5 separate regions of the Homo sapiens genome follow, and regions 1, 3, 4 and 5 are each linked to region 2. Evidence: promoter capture Hi-C in 16 types of primary human blood cells and fetal thymus (Javierre and others, 2016). All regions are on one chromosome and are shown on one strand. The core of a region is centred on a gene start or on the middle of the fragment in contact, and the rest is flanking DNA. Distances in the headings are between cores, read along the strand shown. Region 1 overlaps SUN3 (Sad1 and UNC84 domain containing 3). Region 2 holds the start of SEC61G (SEC61 translocon subunit gamma). Region 3 overlaps ZNF107 (zinc finger protein 107). Region 4 holds the start of ZNF680 (zinc finger protein 680). Region 5 holds the start of LOC105375322 (a long non-coding RNA gene).

Region 1 (2,700 bases), core at 125-2,624, 6.8 Mb after region 2:
TACCCTGGAAAGTGCTGGGCTTTTCCAGGTTCCCAGGGTCATACCCTAATCAAGCTTGCTACAAAGATCATACCAACTGCTGTTACCATGGAGCACATCTCAGAGAAGGTGTCTCCGTCAGGAAACATCTCCAGTGCACCCAAGGAATTTTCTGTCTATGTAAGAAGCTATCTAAATTTGTCATTCAGATTGGCCTGATAGAAGGTGGTTGGCTAGGAATTAGGGGCTGTCCTCTGAACTAGGACAGATAACTAGTTGTGTCACTTATTTCCTGGACTTCTGCTTTCTCACCTACAAAGAGAGAGAGTTGGACCAAATGATTTATATTATTATTTTTACTTTTATCAAAGTTATACATGTATAAGTAAAAATCAAATATTTCCATAAAGTTTGTAAAGAAACAGTAATTCCTTGTCCCACTTCTCCACATCTCCAATTCTCATTATCCCAAAGCTTCTACTTGCAACAATTTTAGATGTTTATTTGGGTACTTGCCTCCATGTTGGCTTTTGCCATTATTTCCTGATTTTTCAGTTTTGATTATGACATCCTCTCATTGAAAATGAAGATTAACTCTTTTCCATGGCACTTCCATCTTCCCAAAATATTTATGTCTTAATTTAAAAAACAAAACAGGTTTCTGGAGATGTAATTCCCATAACAATTAATTCACCCATTTAAAGTACACCCTTCAGTGGCTTTTAGTGTATTCACAGAGTTGTGTATCCATCACCATAATCAATTTTAGAACATTTTTCTTACCCTAAAAAGAAACCCCATACCCCTTAGCCGTCACCTCCTATTCCCCTAGTGTACTCCTCCAGCCCCTGGCAACCACTGGTCTACTTTGTCTCAATAAATTTACCTATTCTATACATTTCATATAAATTGAATCATTTATAATGTGTGATCTTTTGTGAATGGCTTCTTTAACTTTGCATACTGTTTTCAAGGTTCATTTATGATGTAGTATGTCTCAATATTTCATTTATTTTTTATTGCTGAATAACATTTCATTGTATGGATATATGACATTTTATTTATCTATTCATCAGTTGATGGACATTTGAATTATTTTCATTTTTTTGGTCATTATGTATAATGCTTCAACAAACATTCATGTACAAGTTTTTGTGTGGACATGAGTTTTTGTTTTCCTTGGGTGTATACCTAAGACTGGAATTCCTAGATAGCATGGTAAATGTAGGTTTAACATTTGAGGCACTGCTAGAAGACTGTATTATCTTTTTGTTCAAGCAATACTCAATGTTTTCACAGTGACTATGTGAACAAAACAGCTCTCAGTTGAGCTATTTAGTGTACTTAAATACTACTTTCTTCCATTTTTTTAAATGTTTCTGAGTGTAATAATTGCTTTACATTTTTTTTTTCTTGAGACAGGGTCTCAGCTCTGTTGCCCAGGTTGGAGAACAATCACAGCTCACTGCAACTTCAAACTCGTGGGATTGTTTTTTAAATTTTTTAGTAGAGATAAGGGTCTTATTATGTTGCCCAGGCTGGTCTCAAACTCCAGGGCTCAGGATCCTCCCGCCTTGGCCTCCCACAGTGCTGGGATTACAGACGTGAGCCACTGGTGCCCAGCCTATTTTTCTTTAATTTGCTTAGTTTTCTGCATTCCTATTACTAAAACTTTCCCAAATTCTTCTTCAGAAGTACAAATATTCCCCCATTATGTTGATTCACATCAGATAACTTATAAATTTCTTCCTTTCTTTATTCCTTCCTTCACTTTCTTTTCATTTATTTTCTTTTTTTTTTCCCAAGATATCCCTCTGGCGCCCTCAGCATTTTGCTCCAGCCTTGTTAGGTAGGCCTGATGCACAACTGTTGTCGTGGGATTTCACTCATGCATCCTGAGGATTCAACTTACTGTCTAATTTATTATTTTTAAAAAGTGTTTCTTCTTTCCCTTTTCTGCTTTTTGTTCCACCTTCTGGAAGATCATATCAATTCACATTTTAACCCCTCTACGGAAATTTTCATTCCTGCTGTCATGATTATACTTTCTGAGACTTCTTGTTTCTATACATATTCCCTTTTTTAGAGCCTATATTTTTTTCTTTTATGAAGGCAGTACCTTCTCTTATGCTTCTGAATATATTAACTGTAGGCTTGTCTCATTTTCTTCTGCTCGCTTCCGGGTCTGGATTTCCTAGCCCCACTTTTCCCCCTTGCGGGTAGCGTCTCTCTGTTTCCTGTACAACACTTTTCTCCCATGTCTGTGATGCTTGTCACATGAATTGCTAGGCGGTGCAAAGCCGGCAGGAAGCTTTGCGCGCACGGTGGGGCTCATCCGTCGTGAGTTTGCAGCGGGAATCATCTGGTCGGGCCATTTCGTCGGGAGTCACAAGTGTGCTATCAGGAGAGCTGACCCTGAGAGGACTCCTGCAGTGCACAGGAGGTGCCAGCCTGGCCCACCACACCATGAGCTGCTGGGGAGAGGAGGGCCGCGGGGTCACCACTTTGTGCAGAGGCCATGCTCTTGTGGGCGGTTCTGGGGCGGCGCCGGCAGTGGTCTTAGAGATGGGAGGAAGAAGAGAGCCCTCTGCTGGGCCAGGCGGGGCTGGAGGGGCGTGGAGGCGTTGTAACTGCTTTTTGAAATGACTGTTAGCTAAGCCGCAGATTTGGGCTCCTTTCCCCCACACTCCCCCTCACGCTTTCACCCACACGCTCCCCACA
Region 2 (2,774 bases), core at 128-2,627:
TGCCAACATGTGATTTTATGTTTTTTTGGAATGAATTATTTTTTTGAAAATTATTTATTGAGCATTTACTGTGTTTAGCACTTTACTAGATGCTATATTATACCCACTTGGAGCTTATGGTCTAGTAAGGGGATTTACAGTGTAGGGAGACAGACCGAGGAATAAATAAATAAATGTTAATACAAATGCTATGCAGCAAATGAAGAAGGTATTGTGAAAAAGGAAAAAAGAGCATGAGATAGACAGGATTGCCTTAGATGGTCACTATAGGCCTCTAAGGAGATGACACATGGGCTGAAGTCCCAGGGATGAAGAACTAGTCAAACGCATCTCAGTCTGTTCAGAATTTAAAAGTGACTCTTAAAGCTAAGGCAAGGTATGTGTAGTGTGTATGGACCACCTACAGTCAGATATACGGAGGTGTGTGACCTCTAACCCTGACCCACTGAATCAATATCTGGAGGTTCTGGGGTTACAAATTTCATTTACTAAAAAACTTAACAGGAGATTTCAGTTACTGAAGAAGTTTAAGAAGCACTGAGAGTTGTAACACGTCTTAATGTTCCATCAGCTCTTCCTGAGTTATATTGTTCCTCAGATCCCGTTATGCTCCATTGCTAAAAGGAAACATGGCCGGGCGCGGTGGCTCACGTCTGTAATCCCAGCACTTTGGGAGGCCGAGGCGGGTGGATCGCGAGGTCAGGAGTTCAAGACCAGCCTGGCCAATATGGTGAAACCCCGTCTCTACTGACGGTTTCAGCCATCCGGCGGGGGGTTCCTGGAATGCATCCTTGTGGGTAAGTGGGGAGCTGTGTGTACATTATGACCACTCCCGTAACCAAACCTAGCGTTTGACAAAGGCCTCAATTACAGCGGCATTCATTACCGTGAATGACAGCCAAAGTCAAAGTTTGGGGTGGGGATACTATTTTGAATTAGGCCATAACATTATATTGCTCATAAGCTTCATTTCGACCAACATTATATACATACAAAAAGTATGTACCGTAAGGACACACATCAAGCTGGACCGCAGGAAAAAAAACCACAACTTAGGATTTACCTAGTCAGCCGCTACTAGAGAGCAAGCACCGCGCAAGGCCGCTGGGGCTCGTGCTGTGGACGTGAGTGGGTTGAGGTCGGGCTGGTGGGGTAACCCGGGATCCAGCCGGAAAAAAGGGATAACGCTAGACTCACACTCCTAAGGAAGGCCAACGCCCCAACTAGCGAGCTCCGCAATGCATCTCTTCCAGGAAGCGTGGCCGGGCGCACGTCGCGCTGCGCTTGCGCACTGAGGTTTCGCGTAAGGAACCAATAGGACGGAGGAGTGGGCGGGCTGTTGGCAGAAACCCGGATTCCGGTTCCGGTGGGCCTCCATCAGCAAGCTCCAGTGCTACGTGTCCCTGGCATTTTAGGTGTCGGTTGGGTAGGTGAGTTTCTTCCCACCGGTCGGTACGGGCGAACGGGGCGGCCACACCTTTGCGACTCTTGGGGGCAGCGGGCGTGGGCGAGCCGGCGTGTCTCCCCGGGCGGCCGTCGCGGGGCGGGCGGTAAGTGGTCCCCTGGCTCAGGGCCGGGGTCTGGCCGCCGACATCCCACCAACTCGGCCTCTGGCGGAAGGCAGACCCAGGGCCGCGGACTCCCGGCGAGCTGGGTGGCCGGCCCGCGGGGCTCCAGGGCTTAGCGTCCTGCCCCGGCGTCTTCTGTGCTGCAGCCAAAGATGATGTCCTGCTGCCCGATCCCTTCGGGGTTGGCTCTGTGTGCTGTTGTGGAGTCCTGTCTGGGAAGAGCTGTACTCAGCTCTGGTCCTGCCGCCGCTTCCGTGGTTTAAAGTGAGAGCATTGGTCTAGAGTCTAGTTCGAGAGATCATAGTTGGTTTTTGGATCTCTACCCCTGACATTGAGTGCGGTATTGTGTGTAGCGTGCGTTTTTCTGGATAAAGAATTCTTAGCTTCCTTCGTGACAACTATGATTACAAAAAGTTTAAGCCCTTTGGATTTCAAGAGCAAAGTTGAGTGAAATACTGAGAAAACAGACATTACTGTGTTTTTGCCCCCAGAACGTTGCAGAATTCCTGGTGTTTCATTGACATTATTTCATTTCGTTGTCCACACCCTACACTAAGGAAGGCAACTGGGGCTTACAGAGGTTTACATTCCATAGCCAGTGATTTGAACTACCACCTGGCCACTGTTCTGAGTACTGGAAATGGAGGAAAATACAAATAACACCCTGGCTGCTTTACTTACTATAGCAGTGGCTCTCAAAGCTAAGATCGGATAACATTTCTATTGGGTAATAGATTCCTCAAAAGAACCTGTATGGTAAAATATATAGCCCTGTTTCCTTAAAAGATGTGTTCAAATCGAAAAGTTTGAAATTTAGCTAGTAGCTTCTCAGAATTTGCGTCTTCCTTTAGCCATTCTTTATACTTTAGAAAAGTATGTTGTATTGGCACGTTTTAGAAAAATCAAGGTTGAAATTCACGTTTGCCTCTATTCTAGGCTCTTGCAGCACCGTAGTTGGCATTCACTGTACAAGACACTGGCTTCTGCGTAGTTTAAAATAAAATATGGAAAGTAATTGTTGGATCTCAACACTGATGGTTCCTTAGGAGCGGTGAGGGGACTGTAGAATGAGAAATGGATGGGACTGCAGAGTGAGAAAAGGAATGGATGTGTTACCAATTGCGTAACCTTTTTTAACCTTTTAATAGAGATAGGCTTTTTATATTGCGTGTGCTGTTCTTTGTCAGTGAAGATATCATGAGTAAG
Region 3 (2,844 bases), core at 268-2,767, 9.9 Mb before region 2:
ACACCTACAGCCATTTGGTCTTCTCACAAAGCTGACATGAGGAATGCGGGAAGAATTCCGTATTTAATAAATGATGCTAGAATAACTAGCTAACACTATGTAGAACATTGAAAGTGGATACCTTTCCTACACCATATATAAAAATCACTCAACATGAGTTACAGATTTAAATGTAAAACTTAAAATTATAAAATACCCTGGAAGACTAACCTAGGAAATACCATTCTAACATAGAAACTGACAGAGATTTCATGACGAAGATGCCAAAAGCAAATGCAACAAAAGCTAAAACTGACAAATAGGATGTAATTAAACTAGCTATTTCACAGCAATGGAAACTATCAACAGACAAACTACAGAATAAAATAAAATATTTGCAAACTATGCTTCTCACAAAGGTCTAATATCCAGCATCCATAAGAAACAAACAAATTTGTAAGAAAAACACAAACAACCTTATTAAAAAGTAGGCAAAAAACATGAACAGATGCTTTTCAAAAGAAGACATACATGTGGCTAAAAAGTAAATTTTAAAAATGCTCTGTCAGGTGCGGTGGCTCATGCCTATAATCCCAGCACTTTGGGAGGCCAAGGCGGGTGGATCACGAGGTCAGGAGTTTGAGACCAGCCTGACCAAGATGGTGAAACCCCATCTCTACTAAAAATACAAAAATTAGCCAGGCACGGTGGCAGGCACCTGTAATCCCAGCTACTCGGGAGGCTGAGGCAGAAGAATCGCTTGAACTCAGGCGGGAGAGGTTGCAGTGAGCCAAGATCGTGCCACTGCACTCCAGCCTGGGCAACAGAGTGTGACTCCATCTCAAATAAATAAATAAATAAATAAATGCTCATCACTAATCATTAGAAAAATGCAGAGAAAAACTACAATGAGATACCATCTCATACCAGTCAGAATGGCTGTTGTTAATAACAGATGCTGGCAAGGTTGAAGGGAAAAGGGAATGCTTGTACACTGCCTGTGGGAATGTAAATTAGTTCAACCATTGTGAAAAGCAGTGTGGTGATTCCTCACAGAACTAGAAACAGAATTACCATTTGACCCAGACACCTCATAATTGGGTTTATACCCAAAGAAATATAAATTATTCTATCACAGAGACACATGCACATGCATGTTCACTGCAGCACTATTCACATAGCAAAGATACGGAATCAACCAAATACCTATCGACGGTAGACTGGATAAAGAAAATATGGTATGGTAGGGCACGGTGGCTCACACCTGTAACCACAGCACTTTCGTAAGCTGAGGCATGCAGATTTGCGGAACTCAAAAGTTCAAAACCAGACTGAGCAATGTGGAAGAACCACGTCTTTACAAAAAATACAAAAAGAAAAATTAGCCGGGCATAATGATACACATCTGTAGTTCCAGCTACTTGGAGGGCTTAGGTAGGAGGATTGCTTGAGCCAGGGAGGTTGAGGCTGCAGTGAGCCAAGATCACACCACTGCACTTCAGCCTGTGTGACAAGATGAGACCCTGTCTCCAAAAATAATTATAATAAAAATAAAATAAAACAAAATATTTAATACAAACAAAATATGATACATAAACATCATGGAATACCATGTGGCCATAAAAAAGAACAAGAGCACGTCCTTTGCAGCAACATGGATAAAGCTGGAGACCATTAGCCATAGAAAACTAATGCAGAATAGAAAACCAAATATATTTTCTCATGTATAAGAGCTAAATAATAAGAACACATGGACACAAAGAGGGGAACAACAGAGGCCTAGCTGAGGGTGGAAGGTGAAAGAACAAAAAGGGTCGCCAGCCGGGCGCGGTGGCTCACTCCTGTAATCCCAGCACTTTGGGAGGCCGAGGCGGGTGGATCACAAGGTCAGGAGATCGAGACCATCCTGGTTAACACGGTGAAACCCCATCTCTACTAAAAAATACAAAAAAAAATTTAGCTGGGCTTGGTGGCGGGCACCTGTAGTCCCAGCTACTCGGGAGGCTGAGGCAGGAGAATGGCCTGAACCCGGGAGGCAGAGCTTGCAGTGAGCAGAGATCGCGCCGCTGCACTCCAGCCTGGGCAACAGAGCGAGACTCTGCCTCAAAAAAAAAAAAAAAAAAAAGAACAAAAAGGATCAAAAAAATACTTGTTTGGTGCTATGCTTAGTATCTCAGCGATAAAATAATCTGCACACGAAACCACCCTGACACAATTTTACCTATATAACAAACTGCATGTGTACTCCAAAACAGAAATAAAAGTTAAAAGGAAAAAAATCCATGGGTGGGGGAGAATGCCATGTAGGTGGGAGGAATGGTCTGTGCTACAGATAGTGGCCCAGATGGGGCTGTCCTCTGATTTATTTGCGTCCATGCAGGCAGATGAGATTATGAACAGGTGGTCCAGAATCCTTGGTTGGTGGAGAGAGCAGGCTGCTGCTGCAGATTCAGTGTCTGGGAATAGGAATATGTCAGGAGACTTGTAGACACTTTGGTGGGTTTTTGGCAAAAAACACTAGAATAAAAAAATGCTGTAGTGAAATTCCTAAGGGCGGTGCCTAGTCCTGGGAGGGGTGTGGACACATCAATGTATAATGGGTATGTTTGTGAGTGGGTGGAAATTCTGGGATGGCAGCTGCGAGAAAAGGGGGTCTATAATCAGACCTCCTTTCCTCTAAGTTTTCAGTCCTCTCTCACCATGGAAGGAGACCTGGAATCACAGGACAATGGGCAGTGTGACAGTCTGTGTACAGGAGGGTAGAGCGTCGCATTCCCAGACACCCAGAGTTCCACTCCAGGCCAGGCCTCTGTGATATCTTTCTTTTGGCACCAAATCTGTAAAGTTTGCTTAACACCAAGCAAT
Region 4 (2,741 bases), core at 128-2,627, 9.8 Mb before region 2:
AACTCTGTCTCAAAAAAGAAAAAAAGAAAAAGAAAGACCAGGGAGGGATCTGTAGACATAGAGCATTCTTCTTCTGTGGCCCCATCGTCCTTTGTTCACTGTCTGATCTCTGGAAGAAAGGTGGGCAACAGGTGGTCTTCCTGTTGTTATTTTATTCCTGCTGTCCTCTGCTCTTTCTATGGCCACTATCTGTTCTACCCTTGGAACTGAAGAGAGATGTTGGTAGGGAAAGACTTTCCCCTTATTTATGGCAGGAAAAGGATGTTCAAGCCCAGTGTGGTGGCTCATGGCTGTAATCCCAGCACTTTGGGAGGATGAGACAGAAGGATTACTTAAGGTCAGGGGTTTGAGTCCAGCCTGGCTGACATGGCAAAATTCCATTTCTACTAAAAATACAAAAATAAGCCAGGCATGGTGGCACATGCCTGTAATCACAGCTACTCTGGGGAAAATAAGGCAGGAGAATTGCTTGAATCCGGAATGTGGAGATTGCAGTGAGCCGAGATTGCACCACTGCACTCCAGCCTGGACATAAGAGCAAGACTCTGTTTGAAAAGAAAAGAAGAGAAGAGAAAGGAAAAGAAAGAAAAGAAGAGAAGAGAAAGGAAATAAAAAGAAAGGAAGAAAAGAAAAGAAAAAAGAAAAGGGATGTTCAGGATTTCATCTTCTGCCATCAGAGCTGCACTTCAATGTGGCAGCTATTGGCCACCTGTGGCTACTGGGTGCATGGAATGTGGCTGGTCTGAACTGCGATGTGGTAGAAAGGTAAAATACATAGTTTTAATTTTTTTTCCAAAATATATATACTTTGTTAATAATTACATACTGGTCACATATTAAAATGATAATATTTTGGATATATTGGGTTAATTAAATTTCTACAATGAATTCCTCCTGTTTTTTTTTCTTTTTAAAATTTTCCTTCTAGAAAATTTAGAATTCACGTGGCTCACATTCAATTTCAGAGGACTGCCTTTTTAAAAAAAAATGTCAGGCTACCCGCTCAAAGGACAAGAAGCCAGGAGCTCATAAAATTGGAAAATTTTAAATAATTGTTATTGCATTATTTTCATGTGTGAATAGCCACATAATATATTATTTATAAAGGCATACGACCTTATACGCAGGGTTATATGCAAATACTCTCTGGTGTGAGCCTGGTCCGTTCAGGGAGGAAGCCCTTCCCTGAGAACCCTGCAGCTTGGATTTCACTCTTTCTACGTTCAGCCCAGCCGCTGAGCACATATTCTGTCACTCAGGGCATTAGGGGGTGGCGCCCTAAACATTATCCAATCAGGGACGCGGGGCTGGGACCCGTCCAATCAGGCACGCAGCTGGAGCGGACAGGACGGCTTCCGGGATTTGGCGGGGCCTTTGTCTCTAGCTGCTGCGGGAGCTCCAGGTCTAGTCTTTACTGCTCTGTGTATTCTGCTCCTAGAGGCCCAGCCTCTGTGACTCCGTTATCTGCAGGTATTGGGAGATGCACAGCTAAGATGCCAGGACCACCTGGAAGCCTAGAAATGGTGAGAGTGCGGTCCGACACCCCGAGAGAGGGGGAGGGGCTGGTTGGAACCGGTCGGAAGTGGCTGTGGCAGGACTCCAGGCTCCAAGCACTGGGCTCCAAAATCCGCGGCCCGAGTTGTCCTTGGCGCAGCTCGGTCCTCAGTCCCCTTCAGCCATAAGATGGCGGCTGGGCTGACAGCCGGACCCCGGGCGTCATGTCTCCTCCCTGCGCAGTGACTGTGCCTTGGCCTGGAGCCCTCGCTGGGCAGCTCTGCACCCGCAGTGCCGCATCTCTGCCGATAACTCGGGGTGCAGGGTTCATAAATGGGAAGCGCTTTGGTCCATGGGGTCCCAGTCCCTCCTTTTTTCTATTAAAAATTCATGGAAGTCACTGCAAATATATTTAAAAATGTAATAGAAGAGTGGTTCAAAAATCGTAGAGCACCCAGCTATGATTTGTAATTTGTGGTCCATGGGAGGGGCTTGAAGGAAAGACTTTTAAGTGGTGTATGATGAATAAAACCAAATTCAATAATCGGTTAGGTACAGTTACATAACTTCTTAATTTGTAAGATCAAAGTGGAAATTTTCTGGTTATGTAATCGGAGGGTACTTGGCAGTTTATAGTTGGTTAAGCAAGAATTTTATTTCCCCCAATGTAATACTTTACAAAAAACAATGTATTTGAGTTAGATTTTTTTTTTTTTTTTTTTGAAACGGAGTCTCGCTCTGTCGCCCAGGCTGAAGTGCAGTGGCACGATCTCGGCTCACTACAACCTCTGCCTCCCGGGTTCAAGTGATTCTCCTGTCTCAGCCTCCCGAGTAGCTGGGATTACAGGCGCCCGCCACCATGCCCGGCTAATTTTTGTATTTTTAGTAGAGACGGGTTTCACCATGTTGGACAGGCTGGTCTTGAACTCCTGACCTTGTGATCTGCCCGCCTCGGCCTCTCAAAGTGCTGGGATTACAGGCGTGAGCCACTGTGCCTAATGTAAATTTTTTTTTTTTTTGAGACGGAGTCTTGCTCTGTCGCCCAGGCTGGAGTGCAGTGGCGCGATCTCGGCTCACTGCAAGCTCCGCCTCCTGGGTTGACGCCATTCTCCTGCCTCAGCCTCCTGAGTAGCTGGGACTACAGGCGCCCGCCACCACGCCTGGCTAATTTTTTTGTATTTTTAGTAGGGACAGGGTTTCACCAAGTTAGCCAGGATGGTCTTGATCTCCTGACCTCGTAATCCACC
Region 5 (2,700 bases), core at 174-2,673, 9.6 Mb before region 2:
AGCCAAGATCATGCCACTGCACTCCAGCCTGGGTGACAGAGGAGGCTCCATCTCAAAAAAAACCAAAAAACAAAAAACAAAAGTGCTCAGCCACATACGAGCTGCCTGCCCTTGGAGAGGCCTAAGTTTACTATCCTTCCATTGGCACCATCTGAGGGAGAGTCTGAGTCCAGCTCAGGCAAAACCTCACTGGGCTTTGCAAGCAGACAGCTCTGCAGCTTCATCACTCAGGGAACAGGGACTGGTGGCTGGTGTGGAATCTTCAACATTCATAGGGAAGAGGGGCCTGATACCTCAGCTCACAGAGGCAGCCGTGACGCTCTCATGAGAGGAAGTTTGCCAAGTGCTGAGATCTAAGGGTGTAGTCCTGATTCTCTTCTCCCAAGCCTCAGGATTCTGGTTCCAGCCCTGCCCATCCCAGGCTCACTCCCATCCATATAATCCTTTCTGGCAGGGTTTCCCATCACCAGATAACTGGAAAATGTGTCCAGGATGGAGGCAACACCCTGTGCTGTCGGGTGGTGATGGGGATGACTACTCACTTTTGGGTGTCCCTTCGAGGCCTGTCCCCTGAAATCTCATAATCCCCTGTCTCCTGGACCCTCCTATCCGCATCTTCCACTTGTCCCCCCCTTTAGCTGCAGGAGATCAAAGTTCTCCAGGAGATGCAGCTGCTTCAGCTGGCTGTAGACAATTATCACCTTCAGCCTGTGGAGCAATTTTGGGTCTGCCTCCAGTTAACGGAGTGGCTCAGTGAGACTGAGAGGTGAGGGTCCAGCAGATCGGCAGAGGTTATGGAGAATATTTATTTTGGGCCAGCTGCCAAGAGCCTGTGGCCATGGCTCCCTGGTCAGTGTCAGGCCCTGCTGCATGGTGACCCCGGGGGCCCAGCACTCCAGCTGGGCAGGCACTGGGAAGGAGACTAGGGGTGTGACTCCTACATAGAGACCTCACATCTGCCTCTATGACTTGTAGCTACAACCTGTCCTGCCAGCTGGATCGCTTATCCCAGTAGGCCAGCAACTCCTTAAGGCCATGGAGAACATGCCATGATGAATCTTAGGGGACACTGCCTGGACCAGCAGGAGCGAAGTGCCTTAGGGCTCAGTGACATTTGGGTTAGGCATGGGATCCGGGTGTCAGACAGCTACACTGGGCTTCCAGCTCCACCACTGACCAGCCCTGTGCCTGGGGCAGAGGACTCACTGCTATGGTACTTGAGGCCCCATTGTCATAAATACAATGCACACTGCCAATTCCTTTTTCTCATTTATCTGTTTATTTATAATCAACAGGTACTACTGATCTCTGTTGGTGTTTTTATTGAAAATTAATAAGCATGTGATACATTTTTTATCATTCTTCCTCATGATTTCTTTACTATATGATTCTTCTCATATGTGGTACTTAAGAGTAGTTAAAGTCATAGAAAACACCAAGTAGGAGAGTGTTTCCCAGGGGCTACAGGGAGAATAAGGAGTTGTTTAATGGGTACAGTTTCAGTTTCAAAAAATGGAATATGCTTTTTATATATGGAAATGATGGTAGCAAAATAATGAGTGTACTTAATTCATCTCAATGGAAACCTTTAAAATGGTTAAAATAGTTAATTTTATGTGTATTTTAACATAATGTATAAAATTATTTTAAATTTTTATATTATTTTTTAAGAGACAGAGTCTTGCTCTGTTACCCAGATGGGAGTGCAGGAGTGCAATCATTGCTTCCTGTAGCCTTGAACTTATGGGCTCAACTGATCTTTCTGCCTCAGTCTTCTGAGTAGCTGGAATAGCAGACACATGCCACCGTGCCTGGCTAATTTTTAATTTTTTTGTAGAGAGAGGGTCTCACTCTATTGCCCAGGCTGGTCTAAAATTCCCAGCCACAAGTGATCCTCCCACCTTAACCTCCTAAAATATTTTAGGCTGAGCACGTTGGCTCATGCCTGTAATCTCAGTACTTACATATCTACAGCAGGATTGATGAATATTACAAATATGATGTACAAAAGAAAGTATATGTAAAAGTATACATACTATATAATGTCATTTATGTAAAATCCAAAAAGAATATAAAATTGAGGTTTTGGCTTTCAGTAATAGTGGAGTAGCTTGTTGAACACTACTCTTACAAATAATGGTAAAATCTGGATACAATGTCATATATTATATAGAAACACACATCTATATATCATACATATGATATATGTGGGGATAAGAAGCGAATGATAATTTTAGCTGTGCCCACGGAAAGGGAGACAGGCATTTGAATTTGAATCCAGCCAAATTAACTCCCTCTTCAAAAACTAACAACACTCTTCAAAGGAATACAACAGGATCCAGAGTCTCTATAAGTATTATTTACAGTTTTTAAAATACAATTTTAAAATTTAAGAGACATGAGAAGAAACACAAAAATGTTATCCATACACAAGATAAAACATAGGCATTAAAAGCTATCCCCAAAATGTCCAAGATGTTGTTATCAGCAGTCAAGTATTTGAGAGCAGCTATTAAAACTATAGTCATGGGGTGAAGAAAAAAAATTCTCATAATGAATGAATACATGTGGAATCTCAGCAGAGAAATGCACATTATTAAAAAGAACCAAATAGAAAGATAATGAAATTTTAAATAGTACTTTTAGGTTGATTCATAGATTAGAAAAAGACAGAACAATTGAAATTATTCAATCTGAAAA

What was found. The method cuts DNA at HindIII sites, captures the fragments that hold promoters and counts their contacts. A CHiCAGO score of 5 or more calls a contact.
Region 1: a contact is called between a fragment that was not itself captured here and the fragment with the promoter of SEC61G in region 2, in 7 of 17 cell types (naive CD4 T cells, total CD4 T cells, naive CD8 T cells and 4 more). The highest score is 10.6, in naive CD4 T cells.
Region 3: a contact is called between a fragment that was not itself captured here and the fragment with the promoter of SEC61G in region 2, in 3 of 17 cell types (total CD4 T cells, total CD8 T cells and naive CD8 T cells). The highest score is 23.4, in total CD4 T cells.
Region 4: a contact is called between the fragment with the promoter of ZNF680 here and the fragment with the promoter of SEC61G in region 2, in 1 of 17 cell types (activated CD4 T cells). The highest score is 5.8, in activated CD4 T cells.
Region 5: a fragment that was not itself captured here is called in contact with the fragment with the promoter of SEC61G in region 2 in 4 of 17 cell types (naive CD8 T cells, activated CD4 T cells, non-activated CD4 T cells and 1 more); the score reaches 15.9 in naive CD8 T cells.

What each region holds. Positions count from the first base shown.
Region 1 is chr7:47,991,774-47,994,473 of GRCh38, reverse strand. It overlaps SUN3 (Sad1 and UNC84 domain containing 3), which reads left to right. Exons shown (of 10, transcript NM_001030019.2): 8 at 1-159. Among named protein-coding and RNA genes, the nearest start is that of HUS1, 14 kb to the right of the region's middle. RefSeq lists an enhancer at 2,300-2,529. The HindIII fragment of the contact is 1,837 bases long and covers 456-2,292 here.
Region 2 is chr7:54,757,814-54,760,587 of GRCh38, reverse strand. It overlaps SEC61G (SEC61 translocon subunit gamma), which reads left to right and starts at 1,377. Exons shown (of 4, transcript NM_014302.4): 1 at 1,377-1,430. SEC61G-DT (SEC61G divergent transcript) reads right to left here and starts at 1,275. Exons shown (of 3, transcript NR_110040.1): 1 at 1,064-1,275. RefSeq lists an enhancer at 239-1,174 and a silencer at 1,408-1,727. The HindIII fragment of the contact is 2,422 bases long and covers 967-2,774 here.
Region 3 is chr7:64,671,040-64,673,883 of GRCh38, reverse strand. The region is part of intron 1 of ZNF107 (zinc finger protein 107); the gene reads right to left. Among named protein-coding and RNA genes, the nearest start is that of ZNF107, 6.3 kb to the right of the region's middle. The HindIII fragment of the contact is 4,936 bases long and covers 1-2,844 here.
Region 4 is chr7:64,561,707-64,564,447 of GRCh38, reverse strand. ZNF680 (zinc finger protein 680) reads left to right here and starts at 1,377. Exons shown (of 4, transcript NM_178558.5): 1 at 1,377-1,523. The coding sequence starts at 1,494. RefSeq lists a silencer at 1,219-1,328 and an enhancer at 1,429-1,788. The HindIII fragment of the contact is 20,565 bases long and covers 1-2,741 here.
Region 5 is chr7:64,309,039-64,311,738 of GRCh38, reverse strand. It overlaps LOC105375322 (a long non-coding RNA gene), which reads left to right and starts at 1,263. Exons shown (of 5, transcript XR_927582.2): 1 at 1,263-2,700. The HindIII fragment of the contact is 9,634 bases long and covers 1-2,700 here.